Regions from separate parts of the Homo sapiens genome. Here all the other regions are linked to region 2. Evidence: promoter capture Hi-C in 16 types of primary human blood cells and fetal thymus (Javierre and others, 2016). All regions are on one chromosome and are shown on one strand. The core of a region is centred on a gene start or on the middle of the fragment in contact, and the rest is flanking DNA. Distances in the headings are between cores, read along the strand shown. Region 1 overlaps DMC1 (DNA meiotic recombinase 1). Region 2 holds the start of PICK1 (protein interacting with PRKCA 1). Region 3 overlaps DDX17 (DEAD-box helicase 17). Region 4 overlaps KCNJ4 (potassium inwardly rectifying channel subfamily J member 4). Region 5 overlaps DMC1 (DNA meiotic recombinase 1). Region 6 overlaps DDX17 (DEAD-box helicase 17). Region 7 overlaps DMC1 (DNA meiotic recombinase 1).

Region 1 (3,513 bases), core at 62-2,561, 460 kb after region 2:
GGAGTCTCACTCTGTCGCCCGGGCTGGAGTGCAGTGGCGCGATCTCGGCTAGTCTCAAACTTCTGGCCTCAGGTGATCCGCCCACCTCGGCCTCCCAAAAGTGCTAGGATTACAGGTGTGAGCCACTGTGCCGGGCCAAAATCTGTAATTCTTAATTAAACACGTAAAGTGCTGAGAAAGAATATAGGGTATAATATACTGAGTAGCCTAGACTGTAAGGGTTAGGGAAAGGTTCCCTGAGAAAGTGATGTTTAAACTGAAACCTGAAAAACAAATAGAGTTAACCTGGCAAAAAGAAAGGAGGATATGTTCCCATACTTGATACTTACCTTGTATTTAACACAATTTAATTGGAATTGATGATTTCATTATCTAGGTGTATGCTTTGAAAGGTCAGGGACCAAGTCTATGTGTCAATAGAATCCCTCAATCCCTAGTACCTAGTAACAGTAGGGACTTCCCAATAAATTGAATAATTTTTTAGAAAGAAATTCAAACACACAGCATCTGGCAGTAATAATTACAGCCTTGTGGTGGCTCACACCTATAGTCCCAGCACTTTGGGAGCCCAAGGTGGGAGGATTGCTTGAGCCTAGGAGTTTGAGACCAGCTCGGGCAACATGGCAAAACCCCGTCTCTACACACACACACACACACACACACACACACACACACACACACACACACACAAAATAAAAAAAAATTTACCTGTCATAAATCTTGGCAATTCTGAGCTCTCCTCTTCCCTTTCGCAAGCTTATTCTTGTTGTTGAAGCATGAGCCAGAATGTGTCCCCCAATGGGTTTTTTGGGATCTGCCTGAAAGCTGAATTAATAAAATACTCTTTCAGGTTTCATCATATGGACTATATATGGCAATATCTGCAATTACAAGGCAATCTTTCTGTGGTGGATGTCAGGAGTTGGAATAAGTGTATATTCTAAACAAGCAGAGGCTTGTTCATAAACTAAGGAGTGAGGTGAGTTTTGGAGCTGCTATATACCCCATCTAGTCTAGGCTTTTGAGATTCCTATGATAAATAGTTTATATTTTGTTTGACTTTTTTTTTTTGAGATGGAGTCTAGCTGTGTCGCCCAGGCTGGAGTGCAGTGGTGTGATCTCACTCACTGCAACCTCTGCCTCCTGGGTTCAAGCGATTCTCCTGTCTCAGCCTCCCAGGTAGCTGGGATTACAGGTGCCCACCACCACGCCCAGCTAATTTTTTGTATTTTTAGTAGAGATGAGGTTTCACTGTGTTGGCCAGGCTGGTCTCGAACTCCTGACCTCATGATCTGCCCGCCTGGGCCTCCCAAAGTGCTGGGGTTACAAGCACGAGCCACTGTGCCCAGCCTGACTTTAAAAAATGAGATTACTGGCTGGGCTCGGTGGCTCGTGCCTGTAATCCCAGCACTTTGGGAGGTCGAGGTGGGTGGATCACTGAGGTCAGAAGTTCGAGACTAGCCTGGCCAACATGGCAAAAACCCATCTCTACTAAAAATACAAAAATTAGCCAGGTGTGGTGGCGTGTGCCTGATGCTTGTAATCCCAGCTACTCTGGAGGCTGAGGCAAGAGAATTGTTTGAACCCAAGAGGTGGAGGCTGCAGTTAGCTGAGATCAGCCACTGCATTCCAGCCTGGGCAACAGAATAAGACTCCTTCTCAAAAAACAAACAAACAAAAACAGAAAGAAAAAAAGAAAATGTGGGCTTAGAAATCATCAATAAGGGAACAGCACAAACTAAAGGTTATACTTGATCAAAATAAACTATGATATAGAATAATAGCTTCAGTTCTGAAAGAATATAGTTACAAGTCAATTCAAGTTGTGCTTGCTCCATTAAAGTGTTCATGATTCTGGTTTTACTCTAAGCTTCAGGCTTGGTATAGCAAGGATGTAGCTGATTGGCATGAGGTTAAATATATTTAGACTGTAGGTTGGTCGGGATAAGAAGCTCTTTGGTAAAGGAGTTTGCTGAGATAAACTGCTACTTGATTAAATGGCTCAGAGGTTAGGACCAGAAGACCCCTGGTTGGTGCTGAATAGGATTAAGATTCAGTAGAAACTGGACACTATGGCACATATCTGTAGTCCCAGCTACTTGAGAGGCTGAAGCAGGAGGACCACTTGAGCCCAGGAATTCAGAGGCTAGCCTGGGCACCATAGTGAGGCCCTCTTAAAAACATTTTTAAAAAAATGTTTTAAATGCAAATGCAGCAGGTCCAACATAGGAACAAGGACAAAGAGTTAGTTTTGGAGTGAACCACTATCAAGAAAGTAGTAGCCAGACAGTTGAGACTAACGGCGGCAGTTAAGAAGTCAGAAAGCTGGGTTGCTTTGCCAGGCACCTGACATGGTAGTAAAGCAATAAAGCCTTCTCAGTTGGATAAAATAGCTAGATAAGTGAGTTGTCTCTATAATGCTTACAGATCGATGCCACTTAACTTTTCAGGTCACCCTACCTTACAGGTGGTTCTTCATGGTTTTAAAATAATCTTATGTTCTATATAGATGGGCTGCTTGAGACCCTGAGGATATTCTCAACTGAGCTATGAACTCCGAGCCTGCAAACACTGTATTTATGCTTCTGTAATGTACTTTTCATGTTCTGCCTTTAGTACTATTATTTATTTACTTATTGTATTCCTTCTCAATTCCTCTCTTATTCTCTATCACTAAGCTCCTTAAGGGCAGACTATATTGTGTTTAGTTCTGCACAACCAGGCACACAGTGGGTGTTCAAAATTGTTTTTTCAGCTACGTGGGAGGCTGAGGCAGGAGAATCGCTTGAACTCGGAAGGCGGAGGCTGCAGTGAGCTGAGATTGCGCCACTGTACTCTAGCCTGGGTGACAGAGTGGGACTCTGTCTCAGAAAAAAAAAAATAGTTTTTTCAGCTTAAGATATTTATGCTACAACAATTCCAAGGGGAATATTGGACTGCAAAAAGATTGGTGTTTTCACAGAAGTTAAGAAAAAATAAAATTGAGACCAGTTGGAAATTTCTATCAAAAGGAGCTAAGAACGGATAGTCAAGGTTAGCTAAATGGGCAGAGAGAAGTCTGAACACAATGCTACTGCTTCTCCCAGCTAGTCTCTCAATGCTGCTCATTCTCCTGTGTGAGCATGGTTGGCTTTACTGCCTCACCTTCAGTAGTCTCCTTAAGCCCCCTTTTCCATTCTTATCCCCTCACCTTGGATGACATTGCCTGCTACTTTATAAAGAAAATAAGGGCTTGGCCGGGCACAGTGGCTCATGCCTGTAATCCCAGCACTTTGGGAGGCTGAGGCAGGCAGATTGCAAGGTCAGGAGTTTGAGACCAGCCTGGCCAATATGGTGAAACCTTGTCTCTACTAAAAATACAAAAATTAGCTGGGTGTGGTGGCGTGCACCTGCAGTCCCAGCTACTCAGGAAGCTGAGGCAGAAGAATCACTTGAACCCAGGAGGCAGAGGTTGCAGTGAGCTGATCGCGCCACCGGTGGCCCTCCAGCCCAGGCGACAGAGCGAGATTCCGT
Region 2 (3,563 bases), core at 225-2,724:
GCTGGAGTGCAATGGCCTGATCTCGGCTCACTACAACCTCCCTCTCCTATTTTCAAGCGATTCTCCTGCCTCAGGCTCCCAAATAGCTGGAATTACAGGTGTGCGCCACCGCACCTGGCCTTAGACTGCTGCTTTTTGAAACCAAAATTCTGGCCTGGAAACAGAGCTTGGTTTTCCCAGCCCCAGCCCTGCCGCTATGATACCAGAGGAAGAGGCTTCCCAGGGCCTCCGTTTCCTTGCCTGCACAATGTGGCTGGCAAGATTTGGTCTTCTCTCACAGGGTGGTGGTGAGCTTTCAAATCCTGTGAAAGTGATCTCACAGGAGAGCAGTGGACACGTGGGAAGGCTGTTATTGTCACGGCATTCTGCACATCTGTCCGGACTCAATTAGCCACCTAAGGAGAGAGTAGGGCGGGGCTTCCACCGGCCGTGGGATATGTGGATAATCATCCTTCTGTATCTTTCTTCCATGGCTCCTGGGGCAGCTGGGGAAGCAAGCTGGATGGGCCTGGCCCCATGCTGCCGGATGAGGTGGATGCCTGGCTGTGGCTCTGGGAGAGCCAACCTCCCCCAGGGAACCCACTTTACACAATAGCAGTGGCAGCAGAGGCTGGCGAGGAGACAAGATTCGGACTCTGGGGAGCACTGATAGCATTTCCCGAGCCTCAGGTACATGCGGACCGTGACCCTCCCTGGGACCCCAGGGGGGCTGCTCCTCAGGACTAAGGAAGGAGGAGGGGGTGTGAGAAACCTTTCACCATATACCATAGAAAGCATTTACCTCAATGGCCTTGGTTTACATATGGGGAAACTGAGGCACATAAAGGGAAGGGAGCATGTCCAGTCTGTCCTTAATAGCAAGACCCACTGAATACACCTCTCCTGGCTCTCTGTTTAGTGTTTGGACGTTCAAAGATCCCTAGACTAGGCGGCGGGAGTTTCAGGGCCACGATCCAGATCTTACACCAACTGTGTGTGGCCCCGCACAAAATCACTCCCCGCTCTTTGGCACTTAAGTTGGCGAAACTGGGATGGGCTGGGACCTCAAAGGGCCATTCTAGTAGGGGAGTCACAGGCCCAGGTGGTGAAGGGGTGAAAGGGCATGATGTCTTGGGGTTTATAGTCCACTGAGCCTCGCCGGAGGTAACCCCGGCTCAGGGATGCTTTCGTTGCCATGGCAACCGCCGGGCCGGCGCGGGCCCCTGAGTGCAGCTGAGGAAGCTGGGACAAACCCTGCCCTTCCCAAGATGGCGGCGGCGGCAGGGCAAAGGGCGGGGTTAGACGCTGTCAGCCTGTCCAGACCGTTCCTCTGTTTTCGCTTGTTCCTACTAACAGCGAGCTTCCGCCAATACTTGTTCTCGTTCTTGGTTCCGAGCGTCCCGGGAGCCGGGAAGGGAAGGATTGTCTGCAGGGATTGGAGCAAATATCCAGTGGGGGGAAAGCCGGGACTTCCGCGTCTTGCCGGAAGTGACGTGACAATCGCGGCCACCGCCAGGTGGAACGGCAGGTGGGTTCAGGTACCAGCCTGGCCGGGACCCGGCTGTGGGACCAACGCTTCCGGTGAGCGACAGAGGCAGCTCCCCAGGGCCTGGAGACCCGTGGGGCGGACTCTGGGATCTGAGCCTATCGCCCTGGCCTGGAGCCCCCCTTTGTACCTAGTAAGAATCACCTACCCAGCCCCCCACCCGGAGACTGTCCCATCCCACTCCAGAGGGAAGAGGAGGGCACTGCTGTCCCGTATGAGGTGGTGGAGGGAGGGGTGGCGTTGGCATTTAGGCACTTGGGTTCCTTAAATCCTATGCTCCTTTCTCTCCCGGATCCAGTTCCCCATTCCCCTACCGAGCTGGGCAGTTAGCCAGCCCACTCCAACTCTCGGAACCATGTTTGCAGACTTGGATTATGACATCGAAGAGGATAAACTGTGAGTATTTTATTCCCCCAAGTTCCAGCAGTATAGGAGCCCCAAGTTCCTCATTTCCCTGGACTTCCCAGTCCCACAGACCCTTGCTTCTCAGCGGTGGATCAGTTGTTGTACTGAAGCAGCAATGGACCCTGCTCTCCCAGGAGCTCACTATTTGTAGGGGGCTGTGGACAGTTAAAGGGATAATCACAGCTCAGTGCCATAAGGGCACTATTAGCATGACTTGGTGACAAGAAGAGCAAAGCAGATGGAGCAGTGCTTCTGCTGGGATGGTCAAGGAAAGCTTCATGGAGGACGTAGCAATTGAACCAGGTTTTGAAGGTTGAATAGGAATATTGTAGACACCCTTCCTTCCCAACATAGGTTGTTAGTAGGACAGATTTTCCCATTAGAATATATCCTCTTTCAGATCAAGGAGTGGGTGCAATGCCTTTCTCTATGCTCAGCACTTAGTAAGGGACTTGACGTCAGTAGGTTGTTAGCGAATGTTTTTTGAATGAATAAGTGAATCAGCGTGAGTACTTATCATAAAACACCAGTCAATGCTAATTTATAGTGGAAACCGAGAGGTAATCGAGCAGTTGAGAGGTGGGAGGTGGACAGTTTAATAGAGGAAGACTCCCTGGAGTAGGTGGCCATCATACTACATAGATGCCTGATAAGGTGACAAGGACAGAACCTGGCTCAAATCTCAGAGATCGAATAAATGAAAGGGAAGGGGGACCTATTTTTATGGAGTGCCTGCTATGGACTGGGTTGCTGTTAGTGCCCTCCATGCATGGTTAGAAGAACTCTGATAAGGGTGCTCATCCACATTTTATGGATGAGGAAATTGAGATGCACAGAGGCTGACTTACCCAAGTCCCATAGCTGGCCAGGCACGGTGGCTCACGCCTGTAATCCCAGCACTTTGGGAGGCTGAGGCAGGCGGATCAACTGAGGTCAGGAGTTCAAGACCAGCCTGGCCAACATGGTGAAACCCCGTCTCTACTAAAAATACAAAAAAATCAGCCAGGCGTGGTGGCAGGCACCTGTAGTCCCAGCTACTTGGGCGACTGAGGCAGGAGAATCACTTGAACCCGGGAGGCGGAGGTTGCAGTGAGCCGAGATTGCGCCATTGCACTCTAGCCTGGGCAACAAGAGTAAGACTCCATCTCAAAAAAAAACCAAGTTCCACAGCTGATAAATGGCAGAGCTGGGGTTTGATCCCACATCTGCTTAACTCCAAGAGCTGTGCATGTTCCAGCACAAAATGTTGTTTTGTCCAAGGGAGGGAGAGAAAAAGCTGGGCAGCCAGTGGAGCCCCTCAGGAGTTTTAGAGGGCCCACCCGCTCCAGTCATCCTTCTGCCAGGAGAGTCAGCCTAGCTTGCTTTCCTTTCTAGCGGAATCCCGACTGTGCCTGGGAAGGTGACCCTGCAGAAGGATGCTCAGAACCTGATCGGGATCAGCATTGGAGGAGGGGCCCAGTACTGTCCCTGCCTCTATATCGTCCAGGTATTGGGCGCTTTGGAGGGGGGCACAAGGTACATCCCTACTTGGGCATGACAAAGGCAGGTTCATTTCTCCACACTGCATAGCTGACTCCTTCTCATTCTTGAGGTCTGACCCTCTCAGAGGGGCTTTCTGACCACCTGCGCTGCG
Region 3 (3,256 bases), core at 23-2,522, 430 kb after region 2:
AATCTAGCTCTACACTGCATTTGAAAATAAAATTTGCCCATTTTGAATATATTGTTTATAATTAAATGTGCTTTTTACACTGCAGGTCAATATAAAAACTGGTTAGTAAATTTCCAGCGAGCATTTATGTTCATTTGCTCACAGCAGCTGTCTGGATGGAAAATTAATTTCACAGATGGTCCCCAGTTAAACTGGGAAGAAATATAGGCAGCTTCCACCCAGATGCTGAGATGCTACAGTTTAACCACTACAATAAACACTTGTGGTTTTTAATTTAAAGGATACACAAAACTCAGCAATTCAATTTCTAGCCTGACACTAAAATGGTTATTTTTCAGTAACGGGGGGAGAAGTGGGGAGGCAGAGTGTGAAGGGAAATAAAACCAATTAGTAATTTTTAACTATCAAATGCACTCCAGCAATCAGTCAAAACAGGCCCGAGGAAACCTGTTCCAACTTAAGAAACATTTAAAAGCACAAAAGAAAATGTGCAGGGCAATCCCTCTTTGTTTTCTAACCCAGTAATGAGAAATTTAAAGCACAGATGCCATCTTCCTCTGCAAAACAATTCAGCCCTCCCCCTCCCTCCCTCCCCACCAACTCAGAAAAACAAAACATGGGGCTCCCACAAAAGGGCCTAATACCTTACTCTTTTAGATGAAAAATAGCTCAAATATCTTCAACATGCAAGAAGTTGGGGGAAGAAATTAATCTCTTCCAGTCAGCTATATATATATATATATATTTTTTTTTTTTTTACAAAATGTTATTCCAGACTGGATCATTTTGGTGGGCAGAAGAAACCTGGCAGTGAATTCTAACTAATCTGCATGAAAAGACAAATCACGATGGTTGGGGGGAAAAATTAAAAAAAAAAAAAGAAAAAAGGAAAAAAAAAGAAAAGGCGAAGAGGAAAAAAAAAGGAAAGACAGTGTTCCTTAAAATGTAATTAAGTCTGCTGGAGTCACTACCACTTGAGTGGTTTCATTTACGTGAAGGAGGAGGAGGGGGAGGAGGAGGAGGGTATTGGTAGGCAGTCTGCCCCATGTAACCTATCATATTGGTAGCTCCCGGAGGCTGTGCAAACTGTTGTGACATCAGTGGCTGTGGCTGCTGCCCAGACCGGCCTATCCCACTAAACTGCTGGCTAGAGCTCTGTGAACTTCTCCCAGTTGAGGTGGTGCTACTAGCTCCATAAGTGCCAGCACCATATTCTTGAGCTGTATAGCTACTGGTGCCATAAGCAGCTGCCCCATAGGTGCCTTGACCATAGGTGTATTGGCCTGCTTGTGCTCCAAAGGCAGAATTTGGACTTCCATAGCCACTGCCATTAGCATAACCAGCTCTATCGGTTTCACTACGATCCCGATAGCTTGCAGAGTCTCTCCGGCCACCATCCTTGACTCCTCGAAGCCTTCGGTCACACTCATCCTGATACATCAGATTGGGATTGTTGGCTGAAGAAGTGGTCCGGTAACGAGAACGACCACCTAATGGGAAGATACAAGAAGATTTTTAATGGCAGATATAGGACCTAAACATAACAATGTAAAAATTCTACTGGGTACAAAAGTATTAAACATGTCTCCTTGATATTTAGTTATGCTGGCCAGCCTCCCAATTAGTACTGTAAAAATATACTCATAATTTGATTCTTTAATGGGGCACATTCAAAAGCACAGTAAAAATTAAAGGACACTAGACCTTTTCACCCTTTTAGGCCCCTTACTTGAGGATGATCAAGAAACACGGTATTACAATATGAAACCTTGAGTCAGGAAGCCCAGATCCTAGGATATTCTGCAACTGTAGATGCAACTGCTATGTCTCAGTTTCTACCCACCACTAAACAGTGTAAAATGACTGACCTCTCCGTATGGAAAACTGGAAACCTAATATACTACTAAGCATTTTTGAAAGTATTAAAAAAGCAACCATGACCGGGGGCACACTGGCTCACTCTCGTAATCCCAGCACTTTGGGAGATCAAGGCAGGAGGGTCACTTGAGGTCAGCAGTTCAAGACCAGCCAACATGGTGAAACCCTGTCTCTACAAAAAATACAAAAATTAGCTGGACATGGTGGCACATACCTGTAGTACCAGCTACTTGGGAGGCTGAAGCAGGAGAATCACTTGAACCCAGGAGGCAGAGGTTGAAGTGAGCCGAGATCGTGCCACTGCACTCCAGTCTGGGCAACAGAGTGAGACTGTCTCTGCCCCCGCCCCGCCAAAGCAACCACATTAAAACTCAGACCAGCCTCAGCTAGGTTTGGTGGCTCACTCCTGTAATCTCAGCACTTTGGGAGGCCAAGACAGGTGGATCACCAGAGGTCAGGAGTTCGAGACCAGCCAGGCCAACATGGTGAAACTCCACAGACCAGCCTCAGCTAGGTTTGGTGGCTCACTCCTGTAATCTCAGCACTTTGGGAGGCCAAGACAGGTGGATCACCAGAGGTCAGGAGTTCGAGACCAGCCAGGCCAACATGGTGAAACTCCACCTCTACTAAAAATACAAAAATTAGCAGGGTGTGCTGGCGGGTGCCTGTAATCCCAGCTACTTGGGAGGCTGAGGCAGGAGAATCACTTGAACCTGGGAGGCAGAGGTTGCAATGAGCTGAGATCGCGCCATTGCACTTCAGCCTGGGCGACAGAGCAAGACTCCGTCTCAAAACAAACAAACAAACAAAACCAAACCTCAGACCAGTCTCTAAGAAAAAAAAATTCACAATTTAGCTTAACTAATAGGACTATCACAACAAACTTCACGTTTTCTTAGTTGAAAAAGGTTATAAAAAGCATTAGGCAGTGTCCTTTGCTATTAAGCAACATACTTACAGCCTTCTTAAAAACAGCAACTAAAAGCAAGTCACAGAAGGCGTAAAGAGATACCTTGGCAGTACCTGGAAAACTCCAGGACTTACCCTTACCCCCGCCTCCGCCGCCTCCTCTGTGGTCCACAAGCTGCATCAGTTTTGGATTGATAGCCTGATTGGCCTCTTCCAGCACTTTGATAAGCTCTCTGGCCTGTTTTAGGTTCCCTGGGGTGAAGAAGGTATAGGCGGTACCCTTGTTGGTGCTACGGGCTGTTCGGCCAATACGGTGCACATAATCCTCTGAGCTGTTTGGATAGTCATAGTTGATCACAAACTTGACATCTTCCACATCTTCCACGTCAATGATGAGTCAGTGTGTAGGTTGATGTGGCAGGGAAAGAGAAGGTAAAGGACATGCCAACAACAGGTGGGAAGCACGAAT
Region 4 (3,249 bases), core at 338-2,837, 390 kb after region 2:
AGACGTGGTGGCACACGCCTGTAGTCCCAGCTACTCGGGAGGCTGAGGCGGAAGAATCACTTGAATCTGGGAGGGGGAGGTTGCAGTGAGCCGAGATTGCACCACTGCACTCCAGCCTGAGAGACACAGTGAGACTCTCAAAAAAAAAAAAAAAGAAAAGAAAAGAAAAGAAAAAAGTAGCCGGGCATGGTGGCGCATGCCTGTAGTCCCAGCTACTTGGAAGGCTGAGGCAGGAGAATCGCTTGAACCCGGGAGGCAGAGGTTGCACTGAGCTGAGATTGTGCCATTGCATTCCAGCCTGGGTGACAAGAGCGAAACTCCGTCTTAAAAAAAAAAAAAAAAAAAAGGAACCCTCCCATCCCTGCAGCCCGGGTCGCTGGTGTGTGAGCTTCTCCCAGGACAGGCAAAACAGGAAAAGGCTGAGCACGCCCCACCATCCCCATGGGTGGCCCCCGATACACAGAGGGGCAAAGAGAGGCCCCCAGATGGACAGTGGCCTAGTCAAGGTCATGCGGAGCCAGTGAGGGGCTGAGCTGGGATTCGATCCCAGGCCCCTGACGCAGGCCACCCTTCCTACTGCTGTGACCAGGGAGTGCTGCCCTTCCCCTCGCTCCGATCTGGGGATTTTCTGGGGAGAAGGAGCTTAAAGAGACCCAGACCCTGCTCGCCTCCCACAGACCCCACAGCTCTGGGGAGTGTCAGTGAGAGAGGAGGGGCCGGCAGCCCTGGGAGCCATCAGGACACAGAGGAGTCAGGAGCAGCTCCGGGTTGAGAGGCTCTGCCACCATTGCTGAGTGACCCTGGGCAAACCCTGGTGGTCTCCGGACTCGGTTTCTCCATCTCCCAGGAGAGGAAATGGAGAGAAGGCCAATGCAGCCGCAGACAGGAGCTGCTGGGCCAGGCTTGGTGGGGGCTTCTCCTCCATCCCAGTCCCAGGGAGCTCCTCCGCCCAACTGCACCTCCCATGCCCCAGCTCCCCTCTGCCCTGCTGGGGGCCCCCCAGGCCTAGACCAAAGCTCCCAGCTGACAGGTCACCATTACAACGCTGACTTCTCCCTCCACAGCTCCTGCTGGGGTCGGGAACACCAAGGACCCCCTTTCCTGGTAGCCCCTAAGGACCTCTTGACCTGCCAATGTCTCTCTGGGGCACCTCACCCTCCCCTGCCTGCCAAGGCCAGACGTCCCAGCTGTTGGCACCAGGGCTGGTCAGGGACTGGCCAGCAGCCACAGGGAGGAGTGGCTGAGCTGTTGCATGGAAGGAAAGGGGAGGCCTAGGCTGGCAGACATGTACCCACCTCCCTTCAGGTGGCCAATGAGGGTCCTGGAGGGGCTGGCACTGGGTGCACAGTAGGACAAAGCATCTGTGGCTGTTTCCACCCAGGAGCCTGGAACCAATCCTTGCTTCTCTCTGAGCCTCAGTATTCTCATCTGAGAAGTGGGGGTGATGGTTCTCCCAGGGTGGTGGAGGATTAAGTGAAATCATGAATATGAAGCCCAGCGCTGAGCCTGGCACTCAGCTTCCCTCCTGCAGCAATACCCTGAGAACACTGCTCTCACCCCAGCCACCAAGCAACGGCACCAGCCATCTGAGCAGCCCTCACGCATGCGCATGCGTGTGTGCCTGTGTCTGTGCCTGAGCATGCACGCGCAGGCTGAAAGGGGGCTGCGAGCAGGTGGGGCAACGGGTGCAGAGGGAGGGGCAGGGGCCACACGCCAGCACTCCTCCCCACCGGTTTCCCACCCTGTGTGTCCCAACAGAGAACAGTGGTCTTAGAATCAGGCAAAACCCATCCATTCAAATCCAGCCTGTTTCCAGCCAGCCACTTCCCCTTGCTGAGCCTCAGTTTCCCCTTCTGTAAATGAGAATCATCTATGTCCAAAGTCTTCCAGGTTCACGACAGGGACCCCGTGTTGGGCCACGGGGCCAGGATTGGTCAAGACCTTTGGGAGTGGGGGGCCAAGACCAGAGCAAGCCAGAGCGTGAGCTCACCCCTGCTCCCCATGCTGCACCCCACCCACCACCCCGTGAGCGCCCGTGTGCGCGCCTGCAGGAGCGCGCGTGTGTGACTCAAGGTCTATTCATAGCCGAGCTCCACCAGCTGCAGCGTCACAAGCAGAGGGGCCTCAGCCCATATTATTATTTCAATTACCATCTGAATTAAAAGTTTGAGCAGCGATCAGCCCACGTAGCGAGGGGAAGAGGGAACAGGAGAAAAATAAAGATGAAAAGGAGAAGAAGGGCTGTGACTGGCGATCCCCCACACCCCAAGGAGGGCTGAGTCCGCAGAGGAGGCTTAAAGGTTATGCCAACCCCTAGGATTCCCGCCTGCCCCTTGCCAGGACCCACAGTCCTCCCATCGTTGGGAGGAGCGCTTTTCGACAGCAGCCCAACCACAGCTACTCGGTGGAAATAGATCTTTCAGCCCAGGTTCACATGGATGGGTGGACATCACTCGGAGAGGGTGAGGGACTGACCTAAGGTCACACAGAGAGCCACCCAAGGAAGTTGTCTCCAAGACCCTCTCCTGCCAGCCAGGTCCCACTGACCTCACCAGGCTCTGTAGCACATGTGCCATTTCCCTTCTGCTCCCCTCTCCCTGCGCCGATAACTTTCCTCCTGCAGCCCTAGCTTGGAGCCAGCCCTCTCTCAGCCCTCTGCATTCCCGACCTCACACCTCATGCCACCACCGTCAGCCCAAAGGCCCCTCCTCACTCACTGGCACAGGGGACAGAGCCCTGGGCCAGGAGACAGGCAGCCTGGCCCTAATCTAACTCTCTGGGCACCTTCGGGCAGGTCATTCCTTGTCTCTGGGCCTCAGTCTTCCCATCTATGAAATGAGTTCTCCCCTAAGATGCATGGTGGTATCTGTCTTCAGAATGGAGCCCCCAGAGGAGCCAGAGGATCCCTGAGGGGGTGTCACGCTGTGGGGGCGTCTAGACCATCTCCTGCCAAGCCCCAGCCCCAGGGAGGAACGTTTTCCACTCTTTCCCCAGGGAAGCCCCAGAGACAGCCCCCGAGAATCAGACTAGTCTGAACTCACACCCAGGCTCCTCTGCTGTCTTACTGTGTGACCCTGGACAAATCACATAGATTCTCTGAGCCATGGCCCTTCCATCTATAACACGGGGACATCAAATCAACATTGCCATGGAGAATTAAATGGGAATTTGCAAAAGCTCCTAGCCCAGTGCCTGGCGAGCAAATGTGTTTCCTCGCTGGGAAGCGGGGAAGCGATGGGCACTGCTTCC
Region 5 (3,494 bases), core at 285-2,784, 480 kb after region 2:
CAAAAACAGCCACGTTATATTCTGCATCAAGAGATAAAATTTTAAAACTATGAGAAAGGCAATATAGATATTTAAAAGTTCATTGTTTAGATTTCAGAGTTTAGACATATTGCATCATGAATTTATTTTATAAATAACATCATATTCCTATTTTTCATTGACAACAGAAATTATTTGTTATTATTATTATTAAGGTTAGAATAAATATTTTTGGTTTAAAAAGAGTTGTAAAGCCGGGCTCAGCGGCTCATGCCTGTAATCCCAGCACTTTGGGAGGCTGAGGCGGACAGATCACGAGGTCAGGAGCTCGAGACCAGCCTGGCCAACATGGTGAAACCCCGTCTCTACTAAATATACAAAAAATTGGCCTGGTGTGATGGCAGGTGCCTGTAATTCCAGCTACTCAGGAGGCTAAGGAGGAAGAATTGCTTGAACCTGGGAGGCGGAGGTTGCAGTGAGCCGAGATCGCACCACTGCACTCCAGCCTGGGCAACAGAGCGAGATACCATCTCAAAAAACAAAAAAAAAACAAAGAGTTGTATTCTCATAAAGGTAATTTTATTTAAAAAAAAATCGCTGCCTCCTGACATTATATTCCAAGCTTCTCTGCAAAGTATACTTGACAAACATAGTCACAGATGCCATTTTATTTTAAAGATATACCTTCTGAGATTTTTTGGAGTCGTGACAACATCTGGGCCAATTTTTGCTGCCGTTCGGCCAACTCCCCACGGCCACTGAAATCCACTCGAAAAAGTGCCATTATTGAATCGATAATCTACACAGGATTAATGTAAAAATAAACATGCATTTGGAAATTGAAGGAAGACGTTATTTGAATAGAGATCAATAGAAGAAAAATATTATGCTAAATAGCTCTGTGAAAGCAATATTTAAAAGCTTGTACCAATAGCTTGAAGATGCCAGCTTCTTCATGGAACTTTGCTGCTACATAATCAAGTAGCTCCATCTGATGTTCACCTGATGGGAAATGCAGTGAGAAAATGTTATAAAAGTTGAAAGAAGCAGAGGCTAAGATCATTCATATTCTTGGGAGCCAGGCAAAATAAATTCCTTGAAGGATTTTCTTAATTATTGATGACTTTATTAAATATTATTGCAGCAGGGCATGGTGGCTCATGCCTATAATCCCAACACTTTGGGAGGCCGAGGCAGGTGGATCACTTGGGGTCAGGAGTTCAAGACCAGCCTTGCCAACATGGTGAAACCCTGACTCTACTAAAAAATACAAAAATTAGCTGGGTGTGGTGGCGTGTGCCTGTAATCCCAGCGACTTGGGAGGCTGAGGTAGGAGAATCACTTGAAGCCAGGAGTTGGAGGTTGCAGTGAGCCGAGATCATACCACTGCACTCCAGCCTGAGTGACAGAGCGAGACTCCATCTCAAAAAAAAAAAAAAATTATTGCATATTCTGCCTTAGCATGTATACCAAATGCTACATTATCCAAAAAGAATGTTACTCTTAATTTCAAAGACAAAGAATAATAAATAATTTGAGGGCACTTTATTATCTAAGGACTTACCAGATGATAAAATTTATAGACTGAGTAAATTAATTTAGAGAAAAATAAAATAGAAAAAAAGTATCAAAATGTTGTATCCCTCAAGTAGTAAATCAGTGCTGCCAACCTTACATTGACCCAAGCATCCAACTGCATGGGGCTCTTACTAGTATATGCACGTGCATAAAGTACGTTGTCCAGTACTGCATCATGGTCTACATTAAAGCGATCAGCAATGTCCCTAAGGCGATCTGGACGGCTGGAGTATGCCAAGATTAAGGATCCAATAAGTCAATTCTAAAAAAGTTTAGACAACCACTACAAAACATAATATCTTCCGTAAATTAACAGAGAAGCCAAACAATGTACCTGTGAAGGTATTCTAGAGGATGCTAGCAACCATTTAAAGTCTATACAAGATTTGTTTATTCATAAGTGCCTCAACTTACCATAGGTAGTGATAATGGTCATAGAAATGTGAGGCAGTAATGACTTTAACTATTAAATTATCAAAACTTTACAATAACCTTGGAAGCTAGTTTTTATGGCCTGTTTTACATTTTACAACGTAAGACACTGGCAAACAGAGATTAGGCAAATGACTTGAGCTTATGCAGCAAATCAGTTACAAGAGAAAAACTAGGAACTAAGCTTTGTGAGTCCTTTTGTTCTCAGATCTATAAAAATAGACCTGTAATAGATAATATCACTGAATTATAATTCAATAACTGCAAAGTGAATTAATTCACTCTCTTCATACCCCTCATTCCTCAATATGAAATAGTTTATTATATTATTAATCACATGTTGTTAAATGATAAATTTGACTACATGAACCAAAGGGTCAAAAAGGTAACTTCAAGGGCCCAGAAGAGAAATATCGACCAAAGGTTTTTTGTTGGCATAGGTTTTCTTTTTCTTTTCAAATCTTACCTGGAAAGTATATACAGTTTAAAATCTACTTTCTTCTAAAGGAGTTGTTAGCTTTTTTTTTGTTTTCTCCTCCTTCAGTCTCCTGAGTAGCTGTGATTACAGGCGCGAGCCATCATACCTAGCTAATTTTTGTATTTTTAGTGGAGACGGGGTTTCACCATGTTGGCCAGGCTGGTTTCAAACTACTGACCTCAAGTGATATGCCTGCCTCGGCCTCCCAAAGTGATAGGATTACAGGCATGAGCCACCATGCCTAGCCAGGAGTTGTTAGCTTTCTGAAATTAGCAAATTCATAGGGAAGCAAACTAAGTGCACCTGCAAAAGTATTCTGGAAGAAGCTAATAATCACTTATACCTATAAACTATAAAGGAGTAATAAACATTTTTTTTAGGTCTTTGGTGATCCCAACAATATGTCTGAAGTAAAATGAGGTAAAATTAAATGCATGTTTGTAACCTTATTTCACTTTGTTTATAGTGTTTACATAACACTGATCCCAGTATAAGTAACTGTAAATCAAGGACCATTTATAATCTTATTTGTGATGTTTGCAATTAATTTAAATTCCCAGCCATTTATATCCTAATGCACTAGATATGTTCTTGTTGTTAGAGCTTTGGTGACAGCCACAAAAATCTTCCATTGTTATTGAGTATACCCAGTAGATGTTTTTGGTGGACAAGTTAGACAGGGAATTGGAAGAGGCAATAAAAACATTTTCATCATGTCGGTTTCTACAAATCCCAGATACTATGTTGTGGCAGGCCAGGTCTTACTAATGCAGGCCTCCATAACAACTGTTTCAGCACTGACTGAGTGGTTAAGTTAAATATTAAAAGCTGAAAGTGCCCTTATACAAAGGCTGGAATGTAACAAAAGGCCACCAAGAGTTTTGCCCAGGCCTTTCCTGGGCCTTGAAGCATGACAAGATAATGAAGAAATTCTTAACAGTACCTGTTTAGGATTAAACGAGTTTTACTGGGGGCCTGAAGAAACTCCCTAGGTCTCCACAAACAAGTTATTGGGGGTCTGAAGGAA
Region 6 (3,706 bases), core at 557-3,056, 450 kb after region 2:
CTTCTATCTCCTTCTTGTTCCCAAATGGTATTATTAATTTACAGAGAAAAAAACACTAACAAGACTTATTTAAGGCTTTAACACTCAACTAATTACTTAAGATCAACTTCTTGCTTTTTATATACCTTTCACAACAGACAAGCTCAAGAGGAATACAAATATGACCACTAGCCAAAGCTAATATTTAAGAAATCAGAAGCTACTTTTCCTAGAAGAATCTTAACACTAAGATGGCCTTAATTTTCCCTATTTCGATCTTGTAAAGTACAGGTCTTTGTTTGGCATACAAACTGTATAGCATTTTCTCAGTTTCTTTACTCCTTGTAAAATATTGTACTGAATTTAGTTCCCTTTTCCCACTCTAACCCACTTGTAACTTCATCTTATATAAAGTTCCACTTTATCATTGATAGGCAAGTAGGTGTATTATTCTACAGGGCCTCAATTTCCTGCAATTCAAAGCCATTAGAACTCTGGCTTAACCAGCCAGACATTCCTCTAAATACATACGTAACAAAAATTGATGGCAGGAGATTTTATTGGGATCACTGGATACCTACACTCAACAGGCAGAACTTGGCTAATTCCATTTATACCACTACTGAGACAGTGAAGACAAATTAAGAATCAGAACAGGAAGAGCACATAGCATAGGGATACCCGTGTCAGCGACATATTTAATATGCCCCTCAGCTTAAGACTCAATACTGAACAGACCAAAAGGCCACCTCAATTGCCGCTCCCGCCACACTTGCAAATGAAGCAGCTAAATAAGGTACTTTTCAAGAGGTAGAAAGTCTTTGGATTATCACTCTTGCAAATTATAAAAGACTTCATTGTTATTGCCACATTGCAATGCTACCCAAACCTTAGTGACTTAGGAAAAAATAAAACTTGAAAGTAAGATTCCTGTTAAGGCTTTAAACTGATGATTATCATTCATGTATTTTTTTTTCCTCTCTCCTTACTTCCCTGGCTATTTATTCAAGACATTCTATTCTACACTAAACATTTAATTTGAAACATGTGGTTCTTGGAAAATATGCCGTCTTCCATGTTTATAATTAATGCTGACATAATTAATGACCTCAAAATTCAAGAAAGCCTTTTACTTTTGAGCATATCCATGCCATCTTTAAATACGCACACTGTACTCTCTGGTATACTATGCTGCTCAAATGTTTTTATCCGGTCAGTAATTAGTTTAATTTGGCTTTACAAAAAAATTCACCTTTGAAGTCATATATTAACATTAAAAACCATACTACTTCAAATGTACAATGCCTATCATTTTTGCATCACACATGTGAAATACATGAACTGACCTCACCTATTCCTTTTTCAAAATAACCACCACTTCAACTGTGTAACACTCAGTTGAAACAACAGCAATTCAAATAATCAAGAACATTTCTTGGGAAAGGGAGAGTTGGGGCACAGATCTTATGAAAGAAGGCTAGTTCGTTTGAAATTTTTAAAAAATGTCATCTGATACTCAAAGTATGGATCAGTAATTCACTTTTTTCCTTTCAAATAACTTATTAAAGCATATATATGGTGAAAGGAAATATTAAACCAAACACCAATGGTAAAGAAATAGAACACTATTAGTAACTTGTAGCCCCTCTATGTGCCTATTTCAAGCTTACAACTTTCACCCTAATAACCACTACCTTGAATTTTGTTAACCACTCCCTTTCCTATCATATTTGCACATATCCTTAATTAAATGTGTCACCCTACCACAACGTGCTTTTTAACTCAACACTTCTGTGACTTATCCACATTAATCCAAGTTCTTTTCTCTTTTTCACGGCTGATTCAATTGTACGAATACCCACAATTTATGGAGACATTTGCGTTGTTTCCAATATCCTGTTAGCACGAATGCTGGTATATAAACTTTTCTGTACAAGGATCCTGGGGTACCTGTGCAAGGATTTCTCTAGGCATTACAGTCTAGGGTATAAAGCTTAGGGAGGAATTGCTGGGTCGTTTTCAACTTTCCTAGATAATCTCAAGTTCTTTTTCTAAGTCAATGAACTGAAATTCACTTCTAAACTTAGCAATACTGTCACACGCGAAGCAAACATTCCACCTCTCATCCTCTAAACAATGAGATAAAATATTTTCCTTCCTAATAAGGTATAAATCAAAATAATTTTGTAAAAAGTGGCAACTGAAGTGCTTGAGACTAGTAAATCCAGCAGTTGTGGATCTGAACCACAAAAGACAAAAACGTTTGGAGAAAATATCGTTAACAGAGCGCCTACTACAGTGAGACTATTACATCCATTATCTCTTAATTCCTGACAACACAGCAAAGTAAAGGCAATTATCACGTTCCTCAGAGGAAACAGGCTCACAAAAGGTAGGATCTTGACCAAGGTCACACACACACATATCAAGTGGCGTCACGTAACTCTTTGGGGAAGCGGGGGGGTCGGGGGAGACGGAGTTTCGCTCTTGCCACGGGCTGGAGTGCAATGGCGCGATCTCGGCTCACTGCAACCTCCTCCCCCCGGGTTCAAGCGATTCTCCTGCCTTGGCCTCCCGAGTAGCTGGGATTACAGGCATGCGCCACCAAGCCAGGCTAATTTTGTTATTTTTAGTAGAAACGGGATTTCTCCATGTTGATCAGGCTGGTCTCGAACTCCTGACCTCCGGTGATCCGCCCGCCTCGGCCTCCCAAATCGCTGGGATTACAGGCCTGAGGCACCACGCCCGGTCCACAATACCAAGAACTTTCTAGCGAGGCAGAATAGTTGACGCTGCAGTCCAATTAGAGAAAAAAGGCTGAAATATTAAGATTAAAACTAAAGTAACGACCCAAAAACCCATCCTTCCCCCAAACACGGTCATTTAGATGGCAAGCAACTCCACTGCTTTACATCCCAATGCATTTCCTCCGACTTAAAATATAACTGAAGAGAATTAAAATCTATTTCTAAAAATGAGAAGTTGGTCTTTTCGTCTCCCGTGCCTTAAACAGTGAACTCTGGGGAGAGAACGTCAAGGGTGCCATTTCGTGTAAGGCTTTCCTGGGCTGAAGTGTTCTCTCAGGAAGATCCGCGTTTTTCAGATGAACGCCGAGGCCTGGAGACATCGAACAGCCCGCCCGAAGCGGCCCGGCTCGAGAGCCGGGAAACCAGGCGAGGCGCCAAAGCCCGGGCCTGGGCTGATGCGGCCAGGCCGCCCCTCCCGATCCCCCGCGGGGCTGGGATGGGGCCGGGCCGCGCCACGACGGCCGTCCGCACGGAGAGGCCCAGCGTCGCCAAGCGGCCGCCCTCCTCGGGTCCCGAGTGACCCCGGGGCCGAGGTCCGCGCACGAAACCGCTGTCTCGCCTCGAGTCGCCTCCCCTCGCCTCCCGGGTCGAGAGCAAGGCTCCCAGGCTCGCAGTCCGCCGGGCCTCCCCAAGAAGCAACTCCCCCACCCCCACGCCAGGCCTCTCCTCTCCTCCCCCACCCTTACCCTCCACGGTCACGATCCCGGTCCCGGTCCCCAAAGCCTCCTCCGCGCATGGTCCCAAAAGGATAGAGATCTGGGAGCGGGGCACGGATGGCCGGGCTCGGGAGGGCCTGCGGCTCCGGTCTGGTGACGACCGATGGCGGCGGCGCCTCCGCTGTTGGGGCGGCGGCAGGCGCAGCGCTCTCTCGCTCCGACGCGCTGTCTCCCGTCGCAGACGCCACCGTCGCCGCCTCTCTC
Region 7 (3,625 bases), core at 777-3,276, 500 kb after region 2:
TTATTTTAAGAAAAAACTTAAAAAAATAGTAAATGGGTTAGCAAGGCCTTATGTCTTACTAGTCTTTAGAATTGAATTGGAGTTACAGATCGTCTTAATTATTATTATTATTATTTTTTTTTTTTCGAGATGGAGTCTTGCTCTGTCGCCCAGGCTGGAATGCAGTGGCGTGATCTTGGCTCACTGCAGCCTCCGCCTACCAGGTTCAAGAGATTCTCCTGCCTCAGCCTCACGAGTAGCTGGGATTACAGGTGCCTGCCACCACGCCAGGCTAATTTTTGTATTTTTAGTAGAAATGGGGTTTCACCATATTGGCCAGGTTGGTCTCGAACTCCTGACCTCAGGTGATCCGCCTGCCTTGGCTTCCCAAAGTGCTGGGATTACAGGCATAAGCCACCATGCCCAGCCCATCTTAGTTATTAATTGGGTATTTAATATTGTGCTGGAACTATGTTTCTATAGTCAATTGAATTTTCAATGTTTTTTCTTTTTCTTTTTTGAGACAGAATCTTGTTCTGTCACCTGACACAGGGCTAATTTTTTATTTTTTGTATGGCTGGGGTCTTGCTATGTTGCCCAGGCTGGTCTCAAACTCCTGAGGCTCAAGAGATCTGCCCACCTTGGCCTTCCAAAGTGCTGGGATTATAGACATGAGCCATCATGCCCGGCTTCAGTTTTTAATATACTGAAAAACATATGAAAAACAGGTATTAGGAAAATCCAGTGATTGTCATTATGGTCAGGTTATCTCACATAAACCAAATATTATGGAGGACATGTCAGAATAGTAAATGTCAAAGATGTTGTAGGTAATGCTAGCAGTTAGAAGAGTAACTGTCAGATTCTGACAGCATACATTTAATTGGTAGCCCAATGTTGTAGTGCATTTAAAGCTCTGAATAAGAAAAGGCCTAAATTTAAGTCATGATCTCATTCATTCATTAAATGCAACACATATTAATTGTGTTAATTGTGCTAAGACCTGGTAGGGGCACTTTAAAAACCTTGTATGTAGTCTATTAACATGATTTTTTGGGATGTGATCACAGGTCAGACAAAAATTTAAGATATATAGATAATCCAATACATTTACATTTACATAGTTTAAGAGAGCAATTTAAATGTAAATTGAAACAATGTTGGAAGTTATCCACAAATTTAGTGAGGGCTGCAGACTTCAATAAGGAAAAGAAAAATCTAGATAGTGTACCTGCACAACTTAAATCTAAAGGACATGGGCTAAGCGATCAACCCATTTGGAGGGAATACACTTGGAAATCTTATAGGCCCAGCAACTATTTTTTTCTTCAACTTTTATTTTAAATTCAGGGGTACATGTGCCAGATATGCAGGTTTGTTACATAGGTAAACGTGTGCCATGGTGGTTGGGCTAGCAACTATTAAAGAAAGCTTTATTTGTCCCTCTTCTTCCTGAGAAAAATTACCCTGGAAAGCTATACCTCTGGAAAATCCCAGACAAAATTCCTGGTTGATATGTAATCTCAATCAGCTGAAAAGGTAACCCCAAAATTTACCTGTGAGGATACCCCAAATTATTTGGGATAGCACAATTGTTTCCTTTTTGAGACTCAGGAAAATTTAGAATTAAGTGTAGAAATAGTGTTTTTAAATATAGGGAGATTTAAAAATAGAGACACAAATCAAACCCATAGATTACTATTTTCATATTAAATTTGGCAATATGGGCATGGTGGCTCATGTCTGTAATCTTAGCACTTTGGGAGGCCGAGGGAGGTGGATCGCTCGAGCCTGGGAGTTCAAGACCAGCCTGGATAACATGGCGAAACCCAGTCTCTACAGAAAATACCAAAATTAGCCAGGTATGCTGGCCTGTGCCTGCAGTCCCATCTACTCAGGCTGCAGTGAGCCGTGATGGAGCCACTGCATTTTAGCCTGGGTGACAGAGTGAGACCGTGTCTCAAAAAATAAAATAGAATATAAATAAATAAATTTGGTAATAACCTGTGCATATTTGCTATTTGAGACCTTTTAACGTTTAAGATAATTTGACCTTTTTGTAATGGATTGGCCTCTGACTGATTAAATGGTACATTCCTTCAATTTTCAAGTTGATAACTAATTTTATAAATAGTATTTGAACATTTAATGGTGCCTACAACTCACTATACTTCTAAATTTATTTGAGTTACAAAAGATATTTAGGTAATTGGGAAGATTTTGCTGTTAATAATTAGATAATTAGACAAAGTTCTTTTTTTTTTTTTTTTTTTTTTTTGAGACGGAGTCTCACTCTGTCGCCCAGGCTGGAATGCAGTGGCGTGATCTTGGCTCACTGCAACCTCTGCCTCCTGGATTCAAGCAATTCTCTGCATCAGCCTCCTGAGTAGCTGGGATTACAGGCACCCGCCACCATGCCCGGCTAATTTTTGTATTTTTAGTAGAGACAGGGTGATCCTGTCTTTAGTAGAGACCTTGTGATCCACCCGCCTCAGCCTCCCAAAGTGTTGGGATTACAGGTGTGAGCCAGTGCACCTGGCCAACAAATAAAGTTCTTAAAGAAAATACAATACACTAAATGTATAAACATAATTAAAATGTTTAAGAGAATTTAATCTTGTTATAAAAGCACCCTTAAAATGTGCTAGATTTATAAAGGGACTTAAAGCTTAAGGAAAAATGTATAATATTTTAATTAATTAAATATTAATTTTTAAAAACCTAGCTCCTGGCTGGGCGCAGTGGCTCACATCTGTAATCCCAGTACTTTGGGAGGCCGAGGCAAGTGGATCATCTGAGGTCAGGAGTTCGAGGCCAGCCTGGCCAACATGGTGAAACTCTGTCTCTACTAAAAATACAAAAATTAGCCCGGTGTGGTGGCACACACCTGTAGTCCCAGCTACTCAGGAGGCTGAGGCAGGAGAATTGCTTGAACCCAGGAGGCGGAGGTTGCAGTGAGCCGAGATCATGCCACTGCACTCCAGCCTGGGCGACACAGCAAGACTCTGTCTCAAAAGCAAACAAACAACAAAAAAAAACCTAGCTCCTGAATGATCTTTTCTGTTCTCAAGAGCAAACATCAAGGGCACCAGAAAACTCACAATAACAGTAATTATTTCTTTAGCCCAGTGGTTCTTAGACCACCATGTGGTAGAGTAACTAAAGAAAATCAGATTGTCATTTGAATCAAGTGTTTTGTTGATCAACCTCATTTTGACCAATTTGCCTAGGGGTAGGATTTCTCCAAGCCTCTTCCTTAACTTTACTTGAAAAAAGGGTATGTGATTTTAAAAGTCTGGGACAATGCTGGGTTAAACAGGTATTTTCTTTTTCTTTTTTTCTTTTGAGACTGAGTCTCACTCTATTGCCCAGGCTGGAGTGCAGTGGCACGATCTCGGCTCACCACAACCTCCATCTCCCAGGTTCAAGCGATTCTCCTGCCTCAGCCTCCCGAGTAGCTGTGACCACAGGCACATGCCACCATGCCCGGCTAATTTTTTGTATTTTTAGTAGAGACGGGGTTTCTCCATGTTGGTTAGGCTGGTCTCGAACTCCTGATCTCAAGTGATCCACCCGCCTCGGCCTCCCAAAACGCTGGGATTAAAGGTGTGAGCCACCGTGCCCAGCCATTTTTTTGGTAATTTTT

Evidence for each region. The method cuts DNA at HindIII sites, captures the fragments that hold promoters and counts their contacts. A CHiCAGO score of 5 or more calls a contact.
Region 1: a fragment that was not itself captured here is called in contact with the fragment with the promoter of PICK1 in region 2 in 2 of 17 cell types (M1 macrophages and endothelial precursors); the score reaches 5.9 in M1 macrophages.
Region 3: a contact is called between a fragment that was not itself captured here and the fragment with the promoter of PICK1 in region 2, in 1 of 17 cell types (M0 macrophages). The highest score is 5.3, in M0 macrophages.
Region 4: a contact is called between a fragment that was not itself captured here and the fragment with the promoter of PICK1 in region 2, in 1 of 17 cell types (endothelial precursors). The highest score is 5.7, in endothelial precursors.
Region 5: a fragment that was not itself captured here is called in contact with the fragment with the promoter of PICK1 in region 2 in 2 of 17 cell types (endothelial precursors and M0 macrophages); the score reaches 9.1 in endothelial precursors.
Region 6: a fragment that was not itself captured here is called in contact with the fragment with the promoter of PICK1 in region 2 in 5 of 17 cell types (M2 macrophages, total B cells, naive B cells and 2 more); the score reaches 6.5 in M2 macrophages.
Region 7: a fragment that was not itself captured here is called in contact with the fragment with the promoter of PICK1 in region 2 in 6 of 17 cell types (endothelial precursors, M0 macrophages, M2 macrophages and 3 more); the score reaches 9.0 in endothelial precursors.

Annotation. Positions count from the first base shown.
Region 1 is chr22:38,520,900-38,524,412 of GRCh38, forward strand. It overlaps DMC1 (DNA meiotic recombinase 1), which reads right to left. Exons shown (of 14, transcript NM_007068.4): 13 at 709-825. Among named protein-coding and RNA genes, the nearest start is that of DDX17, 16 kb to the left of the region's middle. The HindIII fragment of the contact is 1,114 bases long and covers 755-1,868 here.
Region 2 is chr22:38,055,930-38,059,492 of GRCh38, forward strand. PICK1 (protein interacting with PRKCA 1) reads left to right here and starts at 1,475. Exons shown (of 13, transcript NM_012407.4): 1 at 1,475-1,658; 2 at 1,824-1,921; 3 at 3,305-3,416. The coding sequence starts at 1,881. RefSeq lists enhancers at 927-1,552, 1,249-1,308, 1,553-2,176. The HindIII fragment of the contact is 5,557 bases long and covers 1-2,202 here.
Region 3 is chr22:38,484,951-38,488,206 of GRCh38, forward strand. It overlaps DDX17 (DEAD-box helicase 17), which reads right to left. Exons shown (of 13, transcript NM_006386.5): 12 at 2,929-3,165; 13 at 1-1,490. The coding sequence ends at 985. Among named protein-coding and RNA genes, the nearest start is that of KDELR3, 18 kb to the left of the region's middle. The HindIII fragment of the contact is 8,417 bases long and covers 1-3,256 here.
Region 4 is chr22:38,447,921-38,451,169 of GRCh38, forward strand. The region is part of intron 1 of KCNJ4 (potassium inwardly rectifying channel subfamily J member 4); the gene reads right to left. Among named protein-coding and RNA genes, the nearest start is that of KCNJ4, 5.7 kb to the right of the region's middle. The HindIII fragment of the contact is 3,753 bases long and covers 1-3,249 here.
Region 5 is chr22:38,537,632-38,541,125 of GRCh38, forward strand. It overlaps DMC1 (DNA meiotic recombinase 1), which reads right to left. Exons shown (of 14, transcript NM_007068.4): 9 at 1,690-1,781; 10 at 908-981; 11 at 664-778; 12 at 1-21. Among named protein-coding and RNA genes, the nearest start is that of DMC1, 31 kb to the right of the region's middle. The HindIII fragment of the contact is 1,273 bases long and covers 899-2,171 here.
Region 6 is chr22:38,502,479-38,506,184 of GRCh38, forward strand. DDX17 (DEAD-box helicase 17) reads right to left here. Exons shown (of 13, transcript NM_006386.5): 1 at 3,473-3,706. Among named protein-coding and RNA genes, the nearest start is that of DDX17, 2.0 kb to the right of the region's middle. RefSeq lists enhancers at 2,898-3,706, 3,669-3,706 and silencers at 3,109-3,278, 3,309-3,578. The HindIII fragment of the contact is 328 bases long and covers 1,643-1,970 here.
Region 7 is chr22:38,555,724-38,559,348 of GRCh38, forward strand. The region is part of intron 5 of DMC1 (DNA meiotic recombinase 1); the gene reads right to left. Among named protein-coding and RNA genes, the nearest start is that of DMC1, 13 kb to the right of the region's middle. The HindIII fragment of the contact is 1,237 bases long and covers 1,409-2,645 here.